4 separate regions of the Homo sapiens genome follow, and all the other regions are linked to region 3. Evidence: promoter capture Hi-C in human tissues and cell types (Jung and others, 2019). All regions are on one chromosome and are shown on one strand. Each heading gives the region's core, a stretch centred on a gene start or on the middle of the fragment in contact. The rest is flanking DNA. Distances are from core to core; before and after follow the strand shown.

Region 1 (2,700 bases), core at 54-2,553, 64 kb before region 3:
AGGTGTGGGGGCTTGGGGCAGGCATACGGGAGTGGGGGCGGGTCATCGCTCTCCCCCAGCCTGTGACGGCTCCTCCAGCCTCTGCTCAGCTGGACAGAGCCATCAGGGTCACCGGCATGGTACTGCACCCGGCCCTGCGATGGCCTCCTCTCCAGGCCTCTGGGCTGTTGGTCTTCTCTCTGTAAGCCTCGCCTCTCCCTGACAGAGACTGTTGTCAGGCCATTCACCCTACCAGAGATCCATGACCACGAGGCCTAGGAGATACCGCTCCAATGGTGGTGTTTCGGGCAGGAGGAAGCTGAGACGGCTTTGAGGGGCTGGGGGTGTTGAGGGTATCCCAGTGCTGTAAGAGGGACGGGAAGTTGAGCTGGCCAGCCTGACACCTGGCACGGGGCCCTTTCTGCTCTATCCAGCTGGCAGCTGAGAGAACTGGGGCCCAGAGAGGGTGAGCAACCTGCCCTGCACCACGCAGCCTTGTGCCTTGCTCCTCAGGGAGGCCGACTGCCAGGCTTGCAGGGCTAGGGGCGGGGGTTGACTTGGCAGAAGAGGTGGGAAGGAGGGTCAAGGGCACGGGCAGCTGGGTGAGCTGGCGCAGCAGGAGGCCAGGTCAAGACTTTTGGTTGCAGGTGGGAGTCTGGGTGAGGAGGCCAGGAAGTAGTGGGCAGGGGACATGAGGGCCACTGGGCAGGTACAGGGGCTACCAGTGTCACACACTGGGTGGCAGGAGGGCATCCAGTTCCCAGGGCCCAGGATGCTGGAGCATGGAGGGGCTTAGAGCAAGGTCTGGCCTCAGAGGAGACACATGGTCAGAGAGGGGCAGGGTCTTCCCCAGGCCACACAGCTTCTGAGGAGAGGCAGGGGAGCCAGAGGGGGAGAAGTGGTCAAGGGGCCAAGTGCCCAGGACACAGGGACATGGAAGTGTCCTGCCCAGTGAGAGGTGGGAGGCTCCTTGTTTTGGAGAATCCTGTGAGCCCGTGGATGAGCTCACTCGCACCCGCCTCTGGCGTGTCCCAACAGGGCCCTTCCAACAGAAGCCTGACTATTTTGCATCCCTGGGACAGCTGCCTGGAGCTCTGGAGGAGACCCCACCCCCAGGATGGGTGCCCTGGGCTCCTGGCCAGGGGGTGCTCTGTTGTGCCAGAAGGCTGGACCCCCGAGCAGCAGAGTGTGAGCCACACTGCTCAGAGGACAACAAGAGGGTGGGACTGGAGGGCCAGGGAGGGCGCAAATAGACACGTGCACATGGGAGCTAACCTCTGAGGATGTAAAGGCATAAGAGTGATAGGATGGGCTGGGCACACTGGCTCATACCTGTAATCCCAGCCCGCTGAGGTGGATGAATAACCTGAGGTCAGGAGTTCGAGACCAGCCTGGCCAACATGGTGAGACCCTGTCTCTACTAAAAATACAAAAAGTAGCCAGGCGTGGTGGTGCGCTCCTGCAATCCCAGCTACTCAAGAGGCTGAGACACGAGAATCTCTTGAACCCGGGAGGTGGAGGTCGCAGGGAGCCAAGATCATACCACTGCACTCCAGCCTGGGTGACAAAACGAGACTGTCTCAAAAAAAAAAAAAAGAATGATACAATGGACTTTGAGGACTCAGGGGAAACGCTGGGAGGGTGTGAGGGATAAAAGACTACACATTGGGTACAGTGTATACCACTCGGGTGATGGATACACCAAAATCTGAGAAATCGCCACTAAAGAACTTATTCATGTAACCAAACACCACCTGTTCTCCAGACACAGCCCCGGTCCTCATGAAGCGCCCAGATATTTGGAGAAGGGTGTCGGGGAGGTCTCTTGGCCTGTAATGGCCACATGTGCTGTGGGAAGAATCTGGCAAGCGTCCCTGGGGTATGAAGGGGAGAGAGGCTCATTCCTTGGTTGAGGGTCTCAGGGAGGACTGCACGGAGGAGGGGACACAGGCAGAGTCCAGAAAGATCAGCATGAGTCATCGAGGTGAAAAAGGAGGGGACAAGCTGGGCTGGGAGGAAACAAGCTGGAGCTCAGTAGGGCCAGGGCCATGGAGGCTGAGGGACGTGGCAGCCCAAGTGTGGCCAGTCCTGAGTGCTGGCCCGGGGGCCCTCTGTGGCGCAGCTGGGAACCATCAGGAGGAATGGGGGCCCAGGTTTTCGGGGAGATAGAGAGATCTGTGGCATGGTTGGGGAGGGAGGGCTGGCCCCTGCAGAAGGAATCCAGCTCAAGGGTGGAGATGCATCCCAGATGAGGGCTGTGATCACACAGAGGTGGACAGGAGAGCAATGTGAGAGGTGGTATGGATGGGGTACACTGGCCCTTCTCTTCCCTCCTTCCTGGCATCCACCTTTCTCTAAGTGGCAAACTCCGGCTCATCCCTCAAAGTCAGTGCGGGCGCCCACCCTTGTAGTGTTCCCCCACCCCCGTACTGGCCCCCACCCCCGTACCGTCCCACCAGCAGGAGCTCCCGCTCGCCGGAGCGGGGACGCAGCCGCCTCCAGATGTCCATAGTGAAGAGGGTGCTGCTGCTGTTGAAGATGGAGGTCAGCGACGACATGAGCGCCGCCAGCATCACTGCGATCATCAGCCCCCGCAGACCTGGGGTGGGACGGGGGATGTGTGACCCTGTCCGGCCTTGAGACAGCCCCGGGAACCCCTCCCGCCTGGGCTCTAATGCCTGAGGCCCGCCCGCCATTTGCATGCTCCTCCAAGGCAGAGGG
Region 2 (2,700 bases), core at 73-2,572, 100 kb after region 3:
TCTTACCTAGATGTAATTCTGTGACATATCACTCTAAGTCTGTGTGTAACAGATTGAAGCCCTCTCATTCTCCCAAAATAGTGTAGAGCCTTTGAAAGGATTAAATACATTCATTTTTTTTTAACTGCCTATATCGAAAGACACAGATTGGGAGAAAATATTCACACTACATATATCTGAAGACAAAGGACCTATATCCGATGACAAAGGACATATATCCAGATGATATAAGTAACTCATTTTTAATTTTTTTTTTTTTTTGAGACGGAGTCTTACTCTGTCGCCCAGGCTGGAGTACAGTGGTGTGATCATAGCTCACTGCAGCCCCAGCCTCCTGGATTCCAGTGATCCTGCTGCCTCAGCTTCCCAAGTAGTTAGGACTACAGACATGTGCCCCTGCACCTGGCTTAAAGTTTATTTTTTAAAATCTGCCGGCCTGAAGGACAGGTCTTCTGCCCTGCTTGCAGTCCCTGTGGACTGTCTGTCTTGACTTCCCTCCCACTCCCTCTGGGCACCTGCCCTCAGTGCAGCTGCCCTCCAGCCCCTCCGCTACCTCTGCAGCTCTGCCTGTGCTGTTGTTCCCTTCTTTGCTTGCGGAAATCCTGTCTCCACTGAGGCCCTGCTCTGGGAAGCTTCCACCTCCCACAGGCTTTCCCGGTGTGTGATTTCACTCCTTTGCTGGCATTTAGAGGTAGAAGCTGAGAGGCCTGGGGAAACTAACTCAAACAGTTGGTGACAGCTGAGGAGAGTCTGGAAGGTGAGGGACTCAGAGCTGGGGACATGGATGGACAATGCTGTAACCGCCCTCGCAGCCCACCATCCAGGAGGAAGCCGAGGAGACAGGCCTGGGCCCAAGCTCCAGGGCTCAGAACAGTTAGATCAGATTCCTGTTGATTCTGCCTTTGAATCTAAGAGGGTGGCCCAGATCATATATCAGGAGATGGCTGCATATAACAGAAAACAAAATAACAATTACTTACAGGCCGGGTGCAGTGGCTCACACCTGTAATCCCAGCACTTTGGGAGGCTGAGGCAGGTGGATCACCTGAGTTCAGGAGTTCGAGACCAGCCTGGCCTCGAACATGGTGAAACCTCGTCTCTACCAAAAATACAAAAAATTAGCTAGGTGTGGTCGTGGGCACCTGTAATCCCAGCTACTCGGGAGGCTGAGGCAGGAGAATTGCTTGAAGCCGGGAGGCGGAGGTTGCAGTGAGCTGAAATCGTACCACTGCACTCCAGCCTGGGCAACAAGAGCGAAACTCCGTCCTCAAAAATAAAAAAATAAAAATAAAATACAGGCCGGGCACGGTGGCTCACGCCTGTAATCCCAACTCTTTGGGAGGCCAAGGTGGGAGGATCACCTGAGGTCAGGAGTTCAAGACCAGCCTGGCCAACTTGGTGAAACCCATCTCTACTAAAAATACAAAAATTAGCTGGGCATGGTGGCGCACCTGTAGTCCCAGCTATTCGGGAGGCTGAGGCAGAAGAATCGCTTGAACCCAGGAGCTGGAGGTTGCAGTGAGCTGAGATTGCCACTGCACTCCAGCCTGGTGACAGAGTGAGACTCTGTCACAAAGAAAAAAGAAAAGAAAAAAAAACAGCTGGCCGGGCGTGGTGGCTCACGCCTGTAATCCCAGCACTTTGGGAGGCCGAGGCGGGCGGATCATGAGGTCAGGAGATTGAGACCACGGTGAAACCCCGTCTCTACTAAAAATACAAAAAATTAGCTGGGTGCGGTGGCGGGTGCCTGTAGTCCCAGCTACTCGGGAGGCTGAGGCAGGAGAATGGCGGGAACCCAGGAGGCGGAGCTTGCAGTGAGCTGAGATGGCGCCACTGCACTCCAGCCTGGGCGACAGAGCGAGACTGCGTCTCAAAAAAAAAAAAAAAAACAGCTGGAGTCCACTGCACACAGGCAATGACTCTCACACATGAAACTCATATTTAGATCTGTGCTATGTTTTGGGTTTTGTTTTTAAATACAATAATGTTTAAACAGATTAAACCAAGTTTTAAAAATAACAGGCACATATTACATGAAAGAAATCAAGGAAATGTCTCGGGAAGAAAAAAATCTTAGTGTTAAAATTCCTAAATATCAGTATAGTCATTATATATTGTTCAAAAATAGCAATATTCTGATTAGTTATATGTTTGTTTGAAAATAAAATAATTTGGTAAATTTCCCACATATTTAGTCTAGTACTTAGTCTTAATATAAAAAGCTGGATTTGCCAGCAGAAAATTGTAATTACTTTTTTATGAAGTAAACACACATTATATCACTATCATTGCATGGAAGAGAAAGTGAACAAAAAAAGATTAAGGAATAAAAAAAAGAATATCACTATCATATAACTACATACATTAACAAAGAGACAAACATATCCCACTGGAGATTAGGAGTTTAGCAGAAGTCTCTGAAAATACTAAAAACCGAAACAAAATTAATAATTGCTTTTTGTTTGTTTGTTTGTTTGTTTGTTTTTTAACTATGTAGCGAATTCTTCTGGTTAAGACTAAGCATCAAAAAAAGAGATCTTCCTGAGAGCAATTATTAAACAATTCCTCTTGACCCACACTTCCAAATTAAGTCTATAGTTCTGGAATATGAAATCATTTTCATTTTAAACATAGTTGATGGAAGGCAACTTTTAAACAGAAAACTGCAGTTTAAAGTTGTCTCAAACTTAGTAGCTATAT
Region 3 (2,814 bases), core at 291-2,790:
ATTAATTTTAATGACTGCGGCTGCTACTCTTATAATCACCACTGCTACAACTGCCACCACCACCACCACTGCTACCACTGTAGAACCAATGGCAGCAGCAAGGTCTGGTCCTGTGTGGGCCCCTTGATAGCAGACCTCACCCCAGGTAGGTGGTGTCTCCATATAACAGATCAGAACACTGAGGCCCAGGAAGCTGAGGGGACGTGACCAGTCTCCTGTTTGCCAGGCCTTCGTGCTTAGGCCAGGGGTTATGGAAGATAAGAACGGGTACTCGGCCGGGCGCGGTGGCTCACGCCTGTAATTCTAGCACTTTGGGAGGCCGAGGCGGGCAAATCATGAGGTCAGGAGTTCGAGACTAGCCTGGCCAACACGGTAAAACTCTGTCTCTACTAAAAATACAAAACATTACCTGGGTGTGGTAGTGGACGCCTGTAATCCCAGCTACTCAGGAGGCTGAGGCAGAATTGTTTGAACCCAGGAGGTGGAGGTTGCAGTGAGCCGAGATAGTGCCACTGCACTCCAGCCCAGGTGACAGTGCTAGACTCCGTCTCAGTTAAAAAAAAAAAAAAAAAAAAAGAAGGGGTACTCATTCTCCCCAGGAGACTGTCAGGGCTCAGGGATGCCAGGCTGGGGACCTCTGGGGCTTAAGAAGTGGAGCCCAACATCCCCAGGCGCTAAGCGTGGAGCAGGTGACCTGAACCAGGCTGTGTCCACCTTCCCTCAGGAAGGCCTCCACGATAGACCAGAGGAGCCCTTCCCTTGCTGCAGGGCCAGAGCCTCGGTTTCTCCATCTGCACATGAAACAGCCTGTCCCCAGGGGCCCCGCTGCCCCTGGAATCTGTGTGTGGGGTCAGATCTCTGCTCATTTCTCACTGTTATGAAGGGAGAAAGAACCGGCTTATGATCTAGGGCTAGGCCACAGGACATAAATCCCCAGGGAGCTTGTTCAAAATAAAGACCCCCAGTTCCCAGGGCCCTCCCTGCCTCCGGATTCTGATCCAGCAGCTCTGGGGTGCAGCCAGGGAATCCCGGGGAGCCTGTTGTTCAAGCAGACAGGAGTCACTGACACCATGGAGACTGGGACCAGGAGGCTGATGGGCCACACCCAAGGACTCCAGCTGGGCAGCAGCACAAAAGCCCAGTTACCTGTTAGAGAGAATTTCCTCCTCCTCACTTTGCAGATGGAGACGCCATTACCCAAAGAGAGAAACGGGCTTGGTCAAGGTCTCCAAGCAAGTCTACCCCAGGCTGGGAGGAGGACCACAAGGATCACTAGGCCACCAGCTGGGACCAATGCTGACACCACAGGGACATGCTGGACCCCGGTTCCCACCCCAAGCACCAACCCTGAGAGCCCACTTGGCCAACACCACCACAGGTCCCCTTACCCATATGCCCACGGCCACATTCAGAGCAAAATACACAGTGATGACGATGATGTCAGCCACGCTCAGCTGCGTCCCGGGAGTGTGGAGGTCGCTGGTGGAGTTGGCGGCCATGGCTGTCCTGCCGCAGGCACTAGGTATGAGCCCGAGGGACTGAGGGGCAAACCAGGTCAGAAAGGGTTTCCTGGCAGGGAGCTCATTGATCATTAAACCAAGCGGACAGTGGCATCTCCAGCCCATGATGTGGCTGCATGCAGGGCAGCTGCCTCACCATGCAGTTCAGCTTCCTCACCCCATGGTGGGGTGCAGATCCCAGAGCGCAGGAGTCAGGGAGCCTGGGAGAAGCAAGTGGGAGGAGGAAAGGAAGGAGCCTCCTTGAACTCGGAGGGGGCTTGGGGAAAATGAACCGCATTTAGTGGACCCGGAGGCAGCCCAAATAGTCCCAGAAAGGCTGGGTTGCTTAATGGGTGGCTTCACCTATATCTAATTTGTATAAGAAGCATAGAGCGTAGGGACAACCGCCTCACCTCTGAAGATACTGCCGTGGCGGGCAGCCATGTCCTCCCTTGGCCATCGGGCTGTGAGTGGACTGAGCAGGGCTTGGGAGGGGGACACCTGCATTATGGCTCACGTCCAGCCAACACAGCCCAGGCTCAGAGGCAGCCCCATGTCGGACAATAAAGTCCTGCTTCCAGCGTTTCTGCTTTCTTTTTCTAGACCCGTGAAACAGTCCCAGGCCCCTCAACTTGACCATGCATTCGGCCCCCACCCCGGGCAATGTCTGCCTGGGACCACAGAGGGACCCAATATCTGTCACACACCAAGGACCATGCGTGGCTGTTCTGCACATGATCCCATTTCACGGACCATGCGTGGCTGTTCCGCACATGATCCCATTTCACGCTCACAGCAGCCACGCAGAGTAGGCAATGTCTCATCCTAGTCAAGGAAATGGCCATCCGCCATTACGCAGCCATTGAAGGCGCAGAGTAGGATTCAGTGCAGATGTGGCCCCACCGTCTCCACCGCAGTGACAGTGACGAGTTCCATCTGGATTCCATCAGAGTGGGACGCTCGCTCACTAATTCTATCAGTGTACACAGCAGGGCTGGCCGGCAGTCTCACGCCTCTGCTCAGTGACATGACTCGTGACTTTGCAAAGCATTTGCAGTTTAACCAGACATGCAGCACTTCCAGAAGTGTTAATGAGTGAGCGGCTGCCACCAGGAACACGCTGGCCTGCAAACCCAGCCAGCCTGTTACTCAATAACCCTGAGGTGCGGGTAAAAATTAATCCCCTCGGCCAGGAGCAGTGGCTCATGCCCTTGGGAGGCTCATGCCTTTGGGAGGCCAAGGCGGGTGGATCACCTGAGATCAGGAGTTTGAGACCAGCCTGGCCAACATGGCAAAACCTCGTCTCTACTAAAAA
Region 4 (2,700 bases), core at 198-2,697, 87 kb after region 3:
TTTATACTCAAATAATTATATATATATATAGCATCTAACACAATCCCTGGCACTTATAAGGCACTCAATAAATGTCTGCTGAAAGAATATGTAGGGAGATGGGATAGTTTACAAAAAGAATAGCCCTTAATATATACAGATGAGACATACTACATGAACATCTTGCATGATGAAAAAAAAGATACATGATGAAAAAAAGATATAATTATTTTATAATTATAAAATATCTGCTTTCAAATTTAACAATAACTGCTAATCTGATTATCAAATTTAAAGCATCACATAATGAATATAGATTTTAATGGTACAATTATAACTCACTCTGCAATTTTCTTTGATAGCTCCATACATGATGAATTCGAGTTTGCTGAAAACAACACCAGACCACCTTTGGTTATGTTCATCTTGGTTTCTAATTCAGGTGGCGTCACACAAAACATCAAAACCTTCTTGGTTTTCCAATTTTCAGAGCCTAGAAGGATATAATACTTATTAAAAACTGCCATATGATATGAAATATACCTGAATGAATTTTTTTTAAAGGAAATGACTTCAGCTGAAGGAAATTAGTTTCCATCCTAATAGTATTTTTTAAATATTAGATATATATGGACAAACAGAAAGTTCAGTTGGATTTCAGGGTCCTAAATTTATGGAAATACATTATCACATGATGTTCACAACCACTAAGAAGAAATGATAAACTTACAAGAAAGGCGGAGCTGAAGAGCTCAATGTTTTACTGATTGCTGCTTAAAGTCAATTATGGACAACCTCCTTTTATTCTCTGACAACAAAATTCCTCCTGGATTAACACACAGAAAAATGGCAGAGCCATTAGCGAGAACAAGGACTGATTAATCCTTAGACAAAGAATAAATGACCCATCTACACCCAGCTTTTCCTGTAATCCTTGTTTACCATAAAACCTTTCCCGGCCTTTCAGCTGCCCTGTGTCATGTCTAAAACTGACCTCTCATCTTCATTTTCCTCAAGTGGAACACGGGCTGACTAGATAATCACCTTGAAGGACACTTAAGCGACCACCCAAATGACAGTTTTGGTCACACCCAAATTTTGGCAGTGGGCCAAAAATAAAAAGGTCCCTGGCTTATAAATCATCAGTGCTGGTCAGATGTGGTGGCTCACGCCTGTAATCCTAGCACTTTGGGAAGCCAAGGCAGGCAGATCACGAGATCAAGAGATCAAGACCACCCTGGCCAACATGGTGAAACCCTGTCTCTACTAAAAATACAAAAAATAGCTGGGCATGGTGGCGCGTGCCTGTAGTCCCACCTACTCGGGAGGCTGAGGTAGGAGAATGACGTGAACCTGGGAGGCAGAGGTTGCAGTGAGCTGAGATCGTGCCACTGCACTTCCAGCCTGGCGACACAGCAAGACTCCATCTCAAAAAAAAAAAGTCGTCATCATTGCTGAGTGTCCTCATCACATAATGGAGATGCTAGATGGGAGGAACAGCAACAATCCAGCAGGCTGTGGGCAGGGGGGCCCTTTCTCAGCAAGCCCACTGCATTTCCACAGTTGTATGTTCACCTGGGACCTCTGGGAAGGCTGGTGTAGATCATCAATGAGCTGAAACTAAGCTAATCTTTTTCATTATTCTCAAATTTTAATTATACAAGTAAAACACAAACACATCCTCCCTATAAAAACCTGAAACATGGCTGGGCGCGGTGGCTCAGACCTGTAATCCCAGCACTTTGGGAGGCCAAGGCAGGCGGATCACAAGGTCAGGAGTTCAAGACCAGCCTGGCCAAAAGGGTGAAATCTGTCTCTACTAAAAATACAAAAATGAGCTGGGCGTGGTGGTGGCTGCCTATAGTCCCAGCTACTCTAGAGGCTGAGGCTTGAGAATCGCTTGAACTCAGGAGGCAGAGGTTGCAGTGAGCCAAGATTGCACCACTGTACTCCAGCCTGGGCAACAGAGCGAGACTCCGTCTCAGAAAAAAAAAAAAACCTGAAACATGATAGTTAAGGATAAAGTCACCAGCCTCGATCCCAGGTCCTCCCCAGAAGTGAGGGTTCTTATCAGTTTGGTAGGGACAACATAAGACTTTTTCTATGCATTTATACATGTGACCTCCATAAAAATTATATACGGCCAGGCACAGTGGCTCACGCCTGTAATCCTAGCACTTTGGGAGGCTGAGGTGGGCAGATCACTTGAGGCCAGGAGTTCGAGACCAGCCTGACCAACATGGTGAAACCCCATCTCTACTAAAAATACAAAAAAATAAAAATAAAAATAAGCCAGGCATGGTGGTACATGCCTGTAATCCCAGCTACTCATGAGGCTGAGGCAGGAGAATCGCTTAAACCCAGGAGGCAGAAGTTGCAGTGAGCTGAGATCCACTGCACTCCAACCTGGGCAATGAGAACAAAACTCCATCTAAAAAATTAAAAAAAAAAAAAAAAAAAAAAGGCCACGCAGTGGCTTACGCCTGTAATCCCAGCACTTTGGGAGGCCGAGGTGGGTGGATCACCTGAGGTCAGGGGTTCGAGACCAGCCTGGACAACATGGCGAAACGCTGTCTCCACTAAAAATACAAAAGATTAGCCGGGCGTGGTGGCAGGTGCCTGTAGTCCCAGCTAATCGGGAGGCTGAGGCAGAAGAATGGCATGAACCCAGGAGGCAGAGCTTGCAGTGAGCCAAGATCGCGCCACTGCACTCCAGCCTGG

Evidence for each region. The method cuts DNA at HindIII sites, captures the fragments that hold promoters and counts their contacts. A contact is called where the count stands out against the background at its distance.
Region 1: a contact is called between a fragment that was not itself captured here and the fragment with the promoter of SLC5A10 in region 3, in 2 of the 25 tissues and cell types used here (dorsolateral prefrontal cortex and spleen).
Region 2: a fragment that was not itself captured here is called in contact with the fragment with the promoter of SLC5A10 in region 3 in 7 of the 25 tissues and cell types used here (bladder, liver, lymphoblastoid cells and 4 more).
Region 4: a contact is called between a fragment that was not itself captured here and the fragment with the promoter of SLC5A10 in region 3, in 3 of the 25 tissues and cell types used here (dorsolateral prefrontal cortex, mesenchymal stem cells and spleen).

What each region holds. Positions count from the first base shown.
Region 1 is chr17:19,014,927-19,017,626 of GRCh38, reverse strand. It overlaps SLC5A10 (solute carrier family 5 member 10), which reads right to left. Exons shown (of 15, transcript NM_001042450.4): 11 at 2,428-2,578. Among named protein-coding and RNA genes, the nearest start is that of FAM83G, 12 kb to the right of the region's middle. RefSeq lists an enhancer at 2,554-2,700. The HindIII fragment of the contact is 7,730 bases long and covers 1-2,700 here.
Region 2 is chr17:18,846,703-18,849,402 of GRCh38, reverse strand. No RefSeq gene overlaps it. Among named protein-coding and RNA genes, the nearest start is that of PRPSAP2, 10 kb to the left of the region's middle. The HindIII fragment of the contact is 5,637 bases long and covers 1-2,700 here.
Region 3 is chr17:18,950,891-18,953,704 of GRCh38, reverse strand. It overlaps SLC5A10 (solute carrier family 5 member 10), which reads right to left and starts at 1,540. Exons shown (of 15, transcript NM_001042450.4): 1 at 1,389-1,540. The coding sequence starts at 1,499. The HindIII fragment of the contact is 13,514 bases long and covers 1-2,814 here.
Region 4 is chr17:18,863,574-18,866,273 of GRCh38, reverse strand. It overlaps PRPSAP2 (phosphoribosyl pyrophosphate synthetase associated protein 2), which reads right to left. Exons shown (of 12, transcript NM_002767.4): 2 at 710-805; 3 at 322-472. The coding sequence starts at 440. Among named protein-coding and RNA genes, the nearest start is that of PRPSAP2, 6.8 kb to the right of the region's middle. The HindIII fragment of the contact is 6,276 bases long and covers 1-2,700 here.